Linked DNA regions of Homo sapiens: regions 1, 2 and 4 are each linked to region 3. Evidence: promoter capture Hi-C in 16 types of primary human blood cells and fetal thymus (Javierre and others, 2016). All regions are on one chromosome and are shown on one strand. Each heading gives the region's core, a stretch centred on a gene start or on the middle of the fragment in contact. The rest is flanking DNA. Distances are from core to core; before and after follow the strand shown.

What was found. Contacts are between HindIII fragments. The CHiCAGO score rates a contact against its expected background, and 5 or more counts as called.
Region 1: a contact is called between a fragment that was not itself captured here and the fragment with the promoter of PAK6-AS1 in region 3, in 1 of 17 cell types (neutrophils). The highest score is 5.6, in neutrophils.
Region 2: a contact is called between a fragment that was not itself captured here and the fragment with the promoter of PAK6-AS1 in region 3, in 9 of 17 cell types (naive CD4 T cells, total B cells, naive B cells and 6 more). The highest score is 8.2, in naive CD4 T cells.
Region 4: a contact is called between a fragment that was not itself captured here and the fragment with the promoter of PAK6-AS1 in region 3, in 2 of 17 cell types (naive CD8 T cells and activated CD4 T cells). The highest score is 5.3, in naive CD8 T cells.

What each region holds. Positions count from the first base shown.
Region 1 is chr15:40,425,024-40,428,655 of GRCh38, reverse strand. It overlaps a transcript of IVD not described here. Among named protein-coding and RNA genes, the nearest start is that of BAHD1, 14 kb to the left of the region's middle. The HindIII fragment of the contact is 7,750 bases long and covers 1-3,632 here.
Region 2 is chr15:40,058,625-40,061,938 of GRCh38, reverse strand. All of the region lies in intron 2 of SRP14-DT (SRP14 divergent transcript), which reads right to left. Among named protein-coding and RNA genes, the nearest start is that of SRP14-DT, 21 kb to the right of the region's middle. RefSeq lists an enhancer at 299-358. The HindIII fragment of the contact is 258 bases long and covers 1,405-1,662 here.
Region 3 is chr15:40,251,554-40,255,073 of GRCh38, reverse strand. PAK6-AS1 (PAK6 antisense RNA 1) reads left to right here and starts at 2,115. Exons shown (of 2, transcript NR_168270.1): 1 at 2,115-2,416; 2 at 2,535-3,520. It overlaps BUB1B-PAK6 (BUB1B-PAK6 readthrough), which reads right to left. Exons shown (of 10, transcript NM_001128629.3): 2 at 1,785-1,896. PAK6 (p21 (RAC1) activated kinase 6) reads right to left here. Exons shown (of 11, transcript NM_001395430.1): 3 at 1,785-1,896. RefSeq lists a silencer at 2,044-2,133. The HindIII fragment of the contact is 18,506 bases long and covers 1-3,520 here.
Region 4 is chr15:40,076,652-40,080,242 of GRCh38, reverse strand. It overlaps LOC105370787 (a long non-coding RNA gene), which reads left to right. Exons shown (of 3, transcript NR_188231.1): 2 at 1,442-1,585. Among named protein-coding and RNA genes, the nearest start is that of BMF, 30 kb to the left of the region's middle. RefSeq lists an enhancer at 2,681-3,181. The HindIII fragment of the contact is 5,257 bases long and covers 1-3,591 here.

The sequences.
Region 1 (3,632 bases), core at 235-2,734, 170 kb before region 3:
AAAAACTGCAATACAAAGGTCTCTGACAGCCTGGAGGGCCAGTGAATGGGGCACCTGGATGTGTGTGGCCAGGTTCCAAGCACCTGGGCGGCTTGGCCATGGAAGGAGAAGACTATGGAGGGCCCCCACTTGCTCCTTCACTCTGGAGCCAAGCAGCCTCCTAGGGAGGGAGGGTACCAGGGGAGAGGGAGGTCCCAAAGGCCAGCCTATTTCACAACCACCTGCTTCTCCAGCCTCAAAGGACCGTAGAGTATACTTTGCCCGGGGTACCTGGGAGAGAGGGGCTGGGAAGAGGTACAAGAGGACCTGGAACTGGCTGGATCTCAATATCTAGGTGGTGATTCTGAACTGCTGCCAGCTCCGGGCCTTGGAAGCAGTCTTAGGAAGGGAGAGCAGATCTCAGCTCTCTCAAGCAGTCTCAAGCAGCAGTCATATAAAACCCACAAACAGTCCAGTCTTTTTTTTTTTTTTTTTGACACGGAGTCTCACTCTGTCACCCAGGCTGGAGTGCAGTGGCCAAATCTCGGCTCACTGCAACCTCCGTCTCCCAGGTTCAAGCAATTCTCCTGCCTCAGCCTCCTGAGTAGCTGGCATTACAGGTGCGTGCCACCACACCCAGCCAATTTTTTTATTTTTAGTAAAGACGGGGTTTCACCATGTTGGCCAGGCTGGTCTCAAACTTCTGACCTCAGGTGATCTGCCCGCCTCAGCCTCCCAAAGTGCTGGGATTACAGGCATGAGCCACCGTGCCTGGCAGTCCAGTCTTAATTAGCAACCTTGGACTGGTCTGACTCCCACCCTTCCACTCTGGGCCACTGGTGGGCTTCTGGAAAGAAAGGAGGGGCTGGGCAGGATGCAGGCCAGTTATGAAGGACATCAAGTCTTCCTTCACTACCCTTTTCTCATTTCAGGTTCCTCTTTCCCCCTATTTTAAATCTTAATATATCTTATAGTAAAGTTATCTTAATTTATCTTATAGTAAATTTCATTTAACTATTCTACTTCAACAAGTAAAGAGACCCACTGTATGCCCAGCCCTGGCCAGCCTGCAGCATCAGACAAGACTCAAGTATGAACTAAGGGATTTTGCTACTCTATTCCTGTAAATAGAAAGACTTTGCGGGAGGGGGCAGGTTGTCCTGAAAACACATGTCTTTGTAGAGGTTGCCTCTTGGGAACCCAGGCAGATGTGCAAGGGGACTCTCAAGGCAGGCCAGGCAGGCAGCCCCCAGCGCTGGGCTTATCTCCCACAAGCAGCTGCGTGTTCACGCTCCTTGCCTCTGCTCCTGCAGCGTGTCTGACAGCCTCTCTGAAAGTGTGTGCAGACGTATGCATGTCCATGTGCATGCTCACCCATGTTTGCTCCTGGACGGGCACAAGGCACAAGCTGTGTCTGAATGGATCTGGATCTGGAGCTGTGTCTCTCTCTGCCAGTGCGAGCGTAGCCCTAGTCTTCTTGCTTCCTTCCTTCCTTCTTCTGCCAGCAAGGGCAGCCCTCTGTACTTCCGCCACTGATCCACTGGCCACCTTTGAGGAGCGGAGGTACTGCCTGTGCTGAGATATTCCTGGGCCTGGAATACCTTTTTTTCTTCAAGAAAATTCCCACTTATCTATCCAGCCCTTACTCTCTCGTGTCTTCCAGGGCAAAACTGGAGCATCCGGCTGCCTGGCAGGGTAAATGGAAACGTAATTGTTGCTCTCTGAGGCTGGTCTGTGCTAAATCATTACCATCTCCCCAGCCCGTCGCCCAGTGCATGGGTCTTAGTAGCTTGCCTATAAAGGTTTGTTCAACATGTGGTTTATGGGCCTGGCTGGGGAAGCAGCGATGCACAGATGCACACTTTTGCCATCTGATTTCTCTCCCTTGCTGAAAATAAGCTCATGGGGTTAGCCCTGGGGCTGGCATTCAACTTTTGCCCCAAGTCACCTCTGGTGGCATCATTCTAATAGGCCCACAACTACTTTGGAAAACAGTTTTGAATTATCTAGTAAGGTTGATCAGGTGCATAGCCTACAACAGATAAATTATATTCCTGGGACTATGACTTGAGGAACACTTGCACATCTGTATCAGAAGATACCCACAGGAATGGTTTTTTCTTTTCTTTTTTTTTTTTTGAGACAGTGTATCGCTCTGTTGCCCAGGCTGGAGTGCAATGGTGTGATCTCGGCTCACTGCAACCTCTGCCTCCCAGGTTCTAGCTATTCTTGTGCCTCAGCCTCTAGAGTAGCTGGGATTACAGGCATCCACCACCACACCCGGCTAATTTTTGTATTTTTAGTAGAGATAGGGTTTCACCATGTTGGCCAGGCTTGTTTCAAACTCCTGACCTCAGGTGATCCACCCGCCTCGGCCTCCCAAAGTGCTGGGATTACAGGTATAAGCCACCGCGTCTGGCCAGGAATGTTTTAGAATAGCCCCAAACTGGAAACAGCCCAAATGTCCATCGACAGTAGAATGGACAATTAAATTGTTGTATTTCCACATTATGGAATACTACACAAGAAAAAAAATTGAAGAGATTACAGTCCTGCTCATTAACATGAATGAGGCTGGGCACCGTGGCTCACACTTGTAATCCCAGCACTTTGGGAGGCTGAAGCAGAAGGATGGCTTGAGCTCAGGAGACCAGCCTGGGCAACATAGTGAGACCCTGTCTCTATAACATTTAAGAAAAAAAAAAAAAAATAGCCGGACTGGGCCTTTAATCCCAGCTACTGAAGAGACTGAAGTGGGAGAATCACTTGAGCCCGGGAGGTCAAGGCTGCAGTTAGTCATGACTGCGCCGCTGCACTCCAGCCTGGGTGACAAAGTGAGGCCCTGTCTCAAAAACAATAAAAAATTTAAAAGAGCTGAGCATGGAGGCCACTTTGGGAGGCTGAGGCAGGCAGATCTCTTAAGCCCAGGAGTCTGAGACCAGCCTGGGCGACATGATGAAGCCCCATCTCTACAAAAAATACAAAAAAATTAGCTGAGCTTTATGGCAAATCCCTGTAATCCCAGTTACCTAGGAGGCCCAGGCAGGAAGATGGCTTGAGCCCAAAAGGTTGAGGCTGTAGTGAGCTGTGATCATGAACAGAGTGAGACCCTGTTTCAAAACAAAATGAAAAACAAACAAACAAAAAAACCAAGAAAACAAGAAAACAAAAACTATACAATGATGAGCCAAAAAGCAAGATATGGAAGAATATATATATATATATATATATATATAGTATGAGTCCAGCTATAGAAAGTTTGAAATCAGGCAACCTAAACAATATTGTTCAGGGATCTATACAGAGGCAGGAAGCCATTGAGAAAGGTAAGGGGAGGATTATCACCAAATTCAGGATGGTGGCTCCCCTGGGGAGAATATGTCAAGGAGGGGCACATGGGCTTGGAATACTGTCTTCATTGACCTGCGTGTTGGGTACACAGGAGTTTGTTATTTTTCACACTGCATATGTGCATGTATATACTCTCCCATATATACCATGCATTTCACACAAGAACACAAAGGCTGTGTGGCTCTGCTCTGCCCCTTTCCCCTTCCAGCTCCCATTCTCGTCCTCAGCTAGCAGAGGAGGGTCAGGGTCTTTTAGCACAGCTTCCTTCTGTCTCTGAGTGGGTCAGAGGAGTACGGGGATGA
Region 2 (3,314 bases), core at 284-2,783, 190 kb after region 3:
CCCCTTTGGGAACTCCCTGCCTTTGAACTTGTCCTTTTTCACTGCCTTCAACCCCCTTCTCCAGCTCAATTCTGTAGGCCTTGACAAGAATCACCCATTTGTGGAAGCCCTCTCCTTTCTTGCTCTTTTCCCTTCATTTGGAATCTCCTGACACAGCCTCCACCCTGCTTAAACCCAACACCCTGCACCTGCACTGAGTAGCTGAGCATTGCCGGGGAAACTCACAGTCATACTGAATAGCCGCACTTGACGCTTCTGACCACAAACTTCAAGTGGGCGCTCAGCTTGCCCAGTAATCTTACTATATTTCTCTACTAAATTCACTGCGCCACTCTCCAGATAAGTGTTTCACATCTTCTCCAACCCTCAACACCTTCCCTTAGTTTCTCGCTGTTAGTTAAAGATCTTGCTTCTTATTTTGCTGAGAAACTAAATGTCATCTGCTGGAACGTACGTGCCTCTCACCATCAGATCTCCCAAGGTGCCTGCATCTATGCCCGCTGCTACCTTTCTTCCTCACAATGGATGCATGCATGGATAGATGGATGGATGGATGGATGGACGGAAGGATAGATGGACAGACGGACAGATGGATGGATGGATGGATGGGTGGACAGACGGACGGACGGACAGACGGATGGATGGACAGACAGATGGACAGATGGATAGATGGATGGACAGATGGAGGGATGGCCTCCTCTTGCATCCCTGGCCAATCCCTTCATTTTGTGCACCATATCCCTTCACTTACTCAAGACTGCCTGAAATCACCTTTCTCCCTCCTGCACTATCCAGCTCCTTCTCTCTGCCAGACCATTCCCTTCGGCACATAACTGCGCTATGATCTCTCTCACTTTCAAAACAAACTCTTCCTTGACCCTACACCCTCTTCAGCTTCTGCTCCACTTCCTCCTCCCTTTTACGCACCCCTCCTTGAAGTGGTTGTCCCTGCTGGCTACTTCTCCGAATCTTCACCTCCATTCCCTCTTAGCCTACACCAGCCAAGTTTTTGTTTCTGTCACTCCATTGAAACTGCCCTTGTCCAAGTCACCAGTGACCTCCTACTGGCGCATCCAAAAGGTCTGTCTCCTGGTCTCACCTCCTCAATTTCTCAGCAGCGTTTGCACAGTAGGGCACTCGCTCCTCCTTGCAACGCTGTCTTTCTTTGGAGTCCAGGACTCCACACTGGTCTGGCTTCCTCCTACCCGGATGGCAGCTCTTTCTCTGGCTCCTTCGCTGGCTCCTCCTCTTCTTGATCTCTAAATGTGAGCATGGTGTGGGGACTTTTTTCTTATTTACAGTCTCTCCCGGTTAGATGGTTAGATTCCATCTAGGCCTGTGCCTTTAAATGTCCTCTAGAGGTTGGGATCTTTGAGAGGCAACATGGAAGCGAGTAGAGAAGCTTGCCGGGGTGTGAACCCCTGCTCTGCCCCTGGTGAGCATGCCCCTGGTGTGATGTTGTTGCTGTTAAATTCTCCATGTAAGATCAGATCTTACATGGGGCCTGAGACAAAGGCTTAAGCATGAGTAGTTTATTTGGGAACATGATCCCAGGGAGCAGGGGTGAGGGGGAGGAGGAATGAAACAGAGAAAGGGGGGAGTCAATATGGGAGTGTGTTAACATCTCTCTGAGTGAACACCACTCAGTCTTTCTGTGAAGCTTTATGAAACGTACTTCAGAACTCACTGGAAGAAGGGGGACAGTTATCCATTGGCTCCTCTCGAGTCATCCCATGGAATGTTAGCTCCCCTTCACTTCTGGGCGGCTCATGTGTTAATGCCAAGCAGGTTCCATGGGTGTCCCCCCATCATGGTGTTGGGCGAGAGGCATGTGGAGAGGCCCTGCCAGGCGACATTTACACGGCACTGGTCAAGACCTGTGCAAAACTGGTCACTGGGGCAATGGCTGGAACAAGAGGTGAGGCCGCGGGCATCTGAAATGGCACACAGGATACGCCCCCTATGGACAGGGATAGCTACAGCTCTCGCCTCATAGGTTACTGAGAAGACTAAATGATTTAATGTATGTGTTTGGAGGAGTGCCCAGCTCTTAGCAGTGACCATCTACATGGTGGTAACCCTGCCCTGACATCCCGTCTGCCTAGTGGACACCTCGGAGGCCTGTCATGTTCAAAACAGAACTCGTATGCCCCGTCCCTCCGCTTGTCCAACTATTCCTCCAGTCTTTTCACTGCAGTTAAATGGCCAGGATTCATCTCTCTCTCCCACCCCTCACAACCAATTATCAAACTCTAGCTTCAAAAAATACCCCAGTCTGGCCTTTTCATTAATCCTCATCACAAAGTGACCCACCCAGGCCAAGTCACTATTGCTCCTTGCCTGGCCGACTGCACTAGCTTCCCAACCATCTCCTGCCCCCACTCTCCCCTCCCTACAGTTTGTTCTCCCACAACAGCCTGAGTGAGAATGTTACTGCTGATTAAATCACCCTCTAACAGCTTCCTATTATCCTTTTTATAATTTTTTAAAATCCTTTTTTAAAAAATAACAAGGCTGGGCATAGTGGCTCACGCTTATAATCCTAGCACTTTGAGAGGCCAAGGCAGGAGGATCACTCAAGCCTAGGAGTTTGAGGCTAGCTTGGACAATATAGTGAGACCCCTGTCTCTACAAAAAAAAAAAAAACACCTTAAAAATTAGCTGGGTATGGTGGTGCATGCACCTATAGTCCCAGTTACTTAGGAGGCTGAGGTAGGAGGATCACTTGAGCCTGGGAGGTCGAGGCTGCAGTGAGCTGTGATTGTGTCACGTCACTGCACTCCAGCCTAGGCGACAGAACAAGATCCTGTCTCAAAATAAATAAATGAATAAATAAATAAATCAGCTTTATTGAGATGTAATTCACATATCATATAATTCACCCACTGAAAGTATACAATTCAATGGGCTTTTTTTTTTTTTTGTATATTTGCAGGGTTGTGCAACCATCACCACAATCAATTTTAGAACATTGTAATCATCCTTCAGAAGAAACCCAGCACCCATTATTAGTCACTCCCCATTTCCTCCCAATCTCCCCAGCCCCAGCCAACCACGAATCTGCTTTCTGTCTCTCTGGGTTTGTCTATTTTGGATATTTTGTAGAAATGGAAAAATGCAATATGTGGTTTTTCTGACCAGTTTCTTTTTCTCATTATTCTTAAGATAAACCCCAAACTCCCTGCCATGGCCTTCCAGGCTCCCCATGGTCCAGCACCCCCCCGACTCCCAGCTTTGCTGACTGCCTTCCCTGTCCCAATTCCTCCAAGGTCACTCACTGTCTTGAGCAGGCCCCTCTCCTCTCCTTCCCCTGA
Region 3 (3,520 bases), core at 866-3,365:
CTCTGGCATCCCTAATCACAAGATTGCCTTTTTTTCTACAGCTCTTAACTTTCCAGACCTCTATTTCACCTCCTTAACACTCACAACTTTACACTCACAACACCATTGTGAGTTGGGCTGAACCTGCTTTCCTGGGCCCATTTTAAAGACAGCAGGGAGCTGGAGAGAGAAGGAGGAGGCAAGAAAAGAAAGGTATGCTTATAAAGTGCCCACCACATGGATAGACTGTGCTAGGTGCTTTTTATTAGTACATCTAATGGCTAATTGTAGCTACTGCGAGCTCTGTTTTACAGATGAAGAAACTGAGGCTCAGAGAGAAGTAATTGTCCAAGACAGTAAGTGTGGAGCTGGGATTCAAAGTCAGATCTCTCCGACTCCAAACTCCAGGCTCATCCACAATGCCCAGTGCCCAGAGAAGTCAAGTGACCTGCTCTGGATCACACAGCTATGCAGAACAGAGATGGGACTGGAAGCTCAAGCCAGAGGCTCCCTCTATCCCAGGCAACAGTTGAGGTTCCAGGGTCACCCATGAACACATGAACATGTGTGATGTGCAGGGGGCGCTGCTGTTTCTGATGCCCAAGCCAGATCCTCTTCCAGGAATGGCCCCTTCCCTGGGTCACCACGAGGTCCAGAGACCCTGAATTAGGGTCTCTCACTACTCGCCCTCCAAGGACCCCTACCTTTACTTTATTCCTATTGCTTTGCTCTAATACCCTCTGACAATAGCTTGCCAAACAGCCAGACTGCCCTCAAAGCTCTCCAGGATGGGAGAACTTGGAGTGGCTTAGCCCTTCCCAACATAGCAGCTGGAGGCTGATGAGGCAGTTACTCCCCACAACCGCCTAATGAGGAGGAAGGCATTCGCATTCCCATTTTACAGATGAGGCCATTTATAAGTTTGTAGAGAAGTGAAGCAACTTGTCTAAGGAGTCAAAGGCAAAGTCTGGATAGATTCAAACCCCACTCTCTTCGGTTCCAAATGTGTCTTCGGCCACTGTCCTATATACTATGGAGGAGAATTCATGGCACTGCAGGCTGAACCTCACCTTGCATGGAACCAGGCGTTTTCTTATCCAATGCGGCAACCTATGCCACACCGGCCACCAAAAACGAGCATGGACACAGACCTGAGCCCCTCTGCCCCCTTCACCCAGAAAAACAAGTCAGAAAAGCCCCCAAAAAACCACCAGAATGGGGCAAGATACAGAAAACGCAACCTACACCCTGGGAGCTCTTCATGGCTTAGCCTCCAGTGCTCCCAGCAGCACCTACACTCCAGATCGGATGCCACCTGAGCAGGTCTGGAGATCTGGGGAATGAGCGGTGGGCTGGGATGTGTGGAGCGGCAGCTTCACCTGTAACTCCTGCGGGAGTCTCCCACGGCTGCCTCCCACCCTGCCCTGCACAGCCACTGGGCCTGCCACCACCCTTCCTGTTTGGGAACCTCTTCCCCGGCATGAATTCCCTGCACTCTGCCGCGGTGACACCCTCACCCAGGACAGGCATCAGACCTGAAGATGGGCCCGGGGGCAGGGCGGGCCATTTGAGGTCTTGACGTCTACCAGCCTACCGTGGGGCCATGGGGCAAAGTGGTGTAAGTGACTTAACATGCACCCACTAAGGATCGAGAGACGGCACCTGGAAGGGACCACCTCCGCTGCCTAGCAGTACCAGGAAGGAGCCAGCCCAGGAGGGCCACCTGCCTGCCCACTGTCCCTCCCTGCCTGCTCTTCAAAATGGGTGCAGAAGGCTCTAGGGCCGGGGGCCGCTCGCTCACTCACCTTCCGGCGCCTTCCGCCTCTTCCTCGCGACTCCTCACCCGCACTGGGCCTCTCTCTTAGGCGCTGAGGAGAGGGAAGACCTGGGACCTTGCTGGGCCAGTCCTCCGCAGGCCTGCGCGGAAACAGATCAGAAATGCATTATGGCAAATGTAGCAAGTGTTCCCGCGGGTGTTGCGACTGGCTGACGTCCAGGCGCTGGGAACCGCTCCGCGCCCGCCTCCCGACTGAACTCCTGGCTCAGGTGCAAGAGGCGGCAGGCTCCTTGCGGGGCTTACGGGGAGAAGGGGACGTTGGGCGCAGCACCGCTTCCGGGGCGGCCCCTCTCCAGCCACACTCCGACCCGGCGCGGCCACCCGGCCCCAGCTCGCAGGCCCCACTGCTGCGCCCTCTCGGGGACGCGAATGCCCCGCGCCGGGCGGGCGCCCGCGGAGGGAGGTCCCGCTCCAGGGACGCGGAGCTCCAGATGCCTGCGCCCAAGGCCCCTCGCCTGGCGCCGGCTGGTCCCGAACTTCGGGGCATGGGCACCCAGGAAGGGGGCTGCGCGTGTTGGGAGGCCCGTCCTCTCGCCGCGAACCTCCGGGGCAGCCGGGGAACCCACCTGCGGAGCGGGAAGCCCAGGAACGCTCGAAGAGGTCGTGGGAGCCGGGCCCGCCCTCCGCGGGAGGGACCTCGGCGCGGGAACGCCGAGGAGGGGCCGCGCTTACACGTTGGTGCAGCGCCGGCTTCACCTGACCGCGATTTTGATTTCAGGGTGTGGCCTCAGGTAGGACGCGGCGGCGAACCCAGAGCGCGGGAGAAGTTGCCAAGTGTCGCTGGGGCCTTGGCCAGGAGCCCCTCTGCCCGAGGGGCGCCGTGCTGCTCAACTCTTTCTCTCCACCTGCTTGGCCCCAGTTCCCGCCCGCCCTTCGCCTCCGGGCCCTGGCCTGGCCACAGCCGCGGGGACCTGCCTGCGGCTCCACGGCCCAGTGGCCGCCTCGCGGAGACCCGACCTGGAGAATCAGCTGAGCGCCGGCTGTGTGTAATCACCTCGTTCACTGGCATCGCAGATGCACGCTCCAGAGCCGCGGGCCGACTCTCCCGGACCTGAGCGGGCCGCGTGTGCCCACCCACACATCCTGGAGAGCCCACGCGGGAGTCGGAAAACCTGTCACCTTGGATGATCTGTCCCATGTGGACAGGGCCCCAAGACTGTGCTGGGGTAGCCCCTTGCGCAGGCAGGAAAGCGGGATTTAAGGGATTCCAGTTCCCTTGTCAGCCCTTGCGCAGTCCTGAGTCCTGAGGACTTTCTAGCCTGAGAGTCCTAGGGCAGGAGACCCGCACCCCCAGAGCGGCTAGGGCCTGTTTCGGAGCCCCTCCGCCTGTGATTTTGTCCCAGAGTCGGCATCCTCTGCTTGTCCTCAGCAGTCCCTGCCTAAGATCAGAATGGCCATTCCAAGGGGCTCACTCCTGGCTGCCCCTGTGCCATGTTTCTTTTGGGGTACAGGGTGTTTTCTATACTGGGGGAAGGGACAGGAATCACTCATCTCTTCCCCAGATAAAGAAGTGAGAAGACCTTTGCTCTCCTTGTCTTGGGCCCCCAGAGAAAGGCTGTGTTCTGGCTGAGTGCTGAGGAAGTTCTGGCTTGGAAACTCAGTACATGTGGACTCCAAATGGCTGCCGTCAAGTGGTGGCTGGGTGACTGCCAGTGTCACAGAGCGGGGACCAAGGACAGTGCAGGGATTTTAAAAATCATTGTT
Region 4 (3,591 bases), core at 76-2,575, 170 kb after region 3:
AAGAGGAACAATTTTTTTTCTCTTTACATTTTGTGTCCATATTAGAGATTACTATTTCAAAAACTGAAAGATAAAACCTTGAAAATCAACTGTGGTATATATATGACTCACCAGTCTGAAAGATGCTATTTGACATAGAGATTACAATTATCCAAAATAGTGGCAATATATGTGAAAGTAATTTGAAAGTATAAACATATTTAAAAATATATATATATATATACATACACATATACATACACACATATGTATATTTTTTTGAGATGGGGTCTTGCTCTGTCACCCAGGCTGGAGTGCAGTGGCGCATTCTTGGCTCACTGCAACTTCTGCTTCCTGGGTTCAAGTGATTCTCCTGCCTCAGCCCCCCAAGTAGCTGGGATTACAGGCGCCTGCTATCATGCCCGGCTAATTTCTGTATTTTTAGAAGATACGGGGTTTTACCATGTTGGCCATGCTGGTCTCGAACTCCTGACCTCAAGTGATCTGCCCGCCTCGGCCTCCCAAAGTGCTGGAATTACAGGTGTGAGCCACCATGTCCAGCCCATAATACATTTTTAACATAATTTCTGGTAGTAGCACTTACGTTACCCATATTACCATCACTGCCTGAGGCCAGGGAGAATGGTGAGAAGGATCAGCTATGAAGAGGAGAAGAAAAGCCTTCAGAGTTATGAAAACAATAATGTTAGGGGACTTGGGCTGGAAAAATCTATATATAAAAGGTAGAAGAGACCTTGGCAATTTAATCATATGTCAAATAATTTCTTAGAGAAAAAGAGCTGATAACCCTCTGATCACAATTAACAAAGTATTTCCATGCCAGGATCCATTCACCAATCTATTCCAAAATGTTTGTGCAAATGGGTCAGTGTATACACTTATTAAACACCAGGCTTGCTGATCAGGTTTTTATTTTCTTTTCAACTATTGTTCTTAATTCCCATCACAAATACTGTATTTGTACTACTGAGCAATTTTGTAATTTATTTTCTGTCCTCTGCTGTTCAGTTTCCATTCCCATGTTTCAGAGCCCTTTGCAGCATTCATTGTGATTATAGCCATTTCGGGTTTTGTCCATTGTTCTCAGATTCTATCAGTCTTTGAATCTTGGATTATTTCTTTAGGAAACATTCCTAGAAGTGCAATTTCTGGGTCACAGTAAGCAACACAAATTGCTATAATACATAAGGCCCCAAACCTCAAAGACTTCACACAATAAAAGTTTATTTCTCACTCACAGAGCTGTTCAATGTTGAGTATTTGGTGGGTGGCCTTTAACATGGTGATTTAGGATCCAGGTTCCATCTAGCTTGTCACTCTGCTGTCTTCAGCGTGTACCTTGAAAAGCCACTATACACAGAGAAAGAGAGGGTGGAGGAGGCACATCTTTACCGTGTCAGCTTGGAAGCAACACACACTGCCTCCATTCATTTTTCATTAGCAAGGGCTGGTGGCATGGTGCCACACCTACGGCAAGGAGAACTGAGGAATATGGTCCCTGTCTGGGCAGCCACTTCCCTGCATCACCTGCACACTATGGAAGGAAGCATGATAAGTGGACTGCTAACCATCTCTGGATACAAGGGTATGAATTTCTCAAAAGCCTTTGATACCTGTCCCTAAATTGTCTTCCAGAAAGTTTTTATCATTTTACACTTTTGTTTACAGTATATGAGAGTCCCACCTAACACAAGGTCACCAAAATTGAATACAGTACAGTCGACCCTTGAACAATGTTGGGATTAGGGGCACTGACCACCCCCACCCCCATTAGTTGAAAATTCATATATATAACTTTTGACTCCTCCAAAACTTAACTACTAATAGCTTACTGTTGACAAAAGCCGTAGTGATAACATAGTCGATTCACACATATTGTGTGTGTTATATGTATTATATTCTGTGTTCTTACAATAAACTAGAGCAAAGAAGATGTTATTAAGAAAATCATAAGGAAGAAAACATATATTTAGTATTCATTATGTGGAAGTGGATCGTCATCAAAATCTTCATTCTCATCATCTTCACATTGAATAGGCTGAGGAGGAGGAAGAGAGGGGTAGGTCTTGCTGTCTTAGGAGTGGCAGAGGCAGTAGAGATGAAGGAGTTCGTAGAAGGGGAGGCACGGGAGGCAGGAGAGGCAGGCACACCTGGTGTAACTTTTATTGAAAAAAATCTGGGCTGAGCACCATGGCTCATGACTGTAATCCCAGCATTTTGGGAGGCCAAGGCAGGAGGATTCCTCGAGCCCAGGAGTTTGAGACTAGCCTGGGCAACATGGTGAAACCTTGTGTCTACAAAAAATATATAAAAATTAGCTGGGCATGGTGGCACGTGCCTGTAGTCCCAGCTACTCGGGAGGCTGAGGTGGGAAATCACCTGAGCCCAGGGAGGTTGAGGCTGCAGTGAGCCATGATCGTGCCACTGAATTCCAGCCTGGGTGACAGAGTGAGACCCTGTCTCAAAAAACAAAAAAACCAAAAAAAAAAAAAAAAAAAAAAAAACAACAAAAAAAAGCATGCACATAAGTGGACTCACGCAGTTCAAACCCTTGTTCAAGGGTCAACTGTATTATCATTTGAAACTTTTTTTGTTTTTTTTTTGAGACAGGTCTCACTCTGTTGCCCAGGCTGCAATGGCACAATCATAGCTCACGGCAGCTTCGACCTCTTGGGTTCAAGCCGTCTTCCCTCCTCAGGGGAGGACGTCTAGCTTATTGAGCTAAACAGAACCTGGATCCTAAATCACCACGTTTCCATCTAGTGCTGGGAATACAGCTGTGAGCCAACATGGCCAGCCTGAAACATTTTTATTTTGCTAATTTTACGAGTGAAAAGGGACTTTCTTTTTCCTTCTTTCTCCTTCCTTCCTTCTTTCCTTCCTTCCTTCCTTCCTTCCTTCCTTCCTTCCTTCCTTCCTTCCCTCCATCCCTCCCTCCCTCCCTCCCTCCCTCTTTCTCTTTCTTTTTTTTTGACACAAGGTATCACTCTGTCGCCCAGGCTGGAGCATAGTGGCACGATCATGGCTCACTGCAGCCTTGACCTCCTGAGCTCCTGGGCTCAAACAGCCCGCCCCCTTCCGCCACCCCTCCACCGCCAAGTATCTGGGACTACAGGCGTGCACCAACACGCTTGCTAATTTTATTTTATTTTTTTTTTGAGATGGAGTCTTGCTCTTTCTCCCAGGCTGGAGTGCAGCGGCGCGATCTCGGCTCACTGCAAGCTCCGCCTCCCGGGTTCACGCCATTCTCCTGCCTCAGCCTCCCGAGCACAGTAGCTGGGACTACAGGCGCCAGCCACTATGTCTGGCTAATTTTTTTTTTTTTTTTTTTTTTTTTTGTATTTTTAGTAGAGACGGGCTTTCACCGTGTGTTAGCCAGGATGGTCTCTATCTCCTGACCTCGTGATCCGCTCGCCTCGGCCTCCCAAAGTGCTGGGATTACAGGCGTGAGCCACTGTGCCCTGCGCTAATTTTTTATTTTTTATTTTTTATTTTGTAGAGACCAGCTATGTTGCTCAAACTGGTCTAGAACTCCTGGGCTCAAGCGATCCTCCCACCTCTACCTCCCCATTCGCTGGGATTACAGCCATG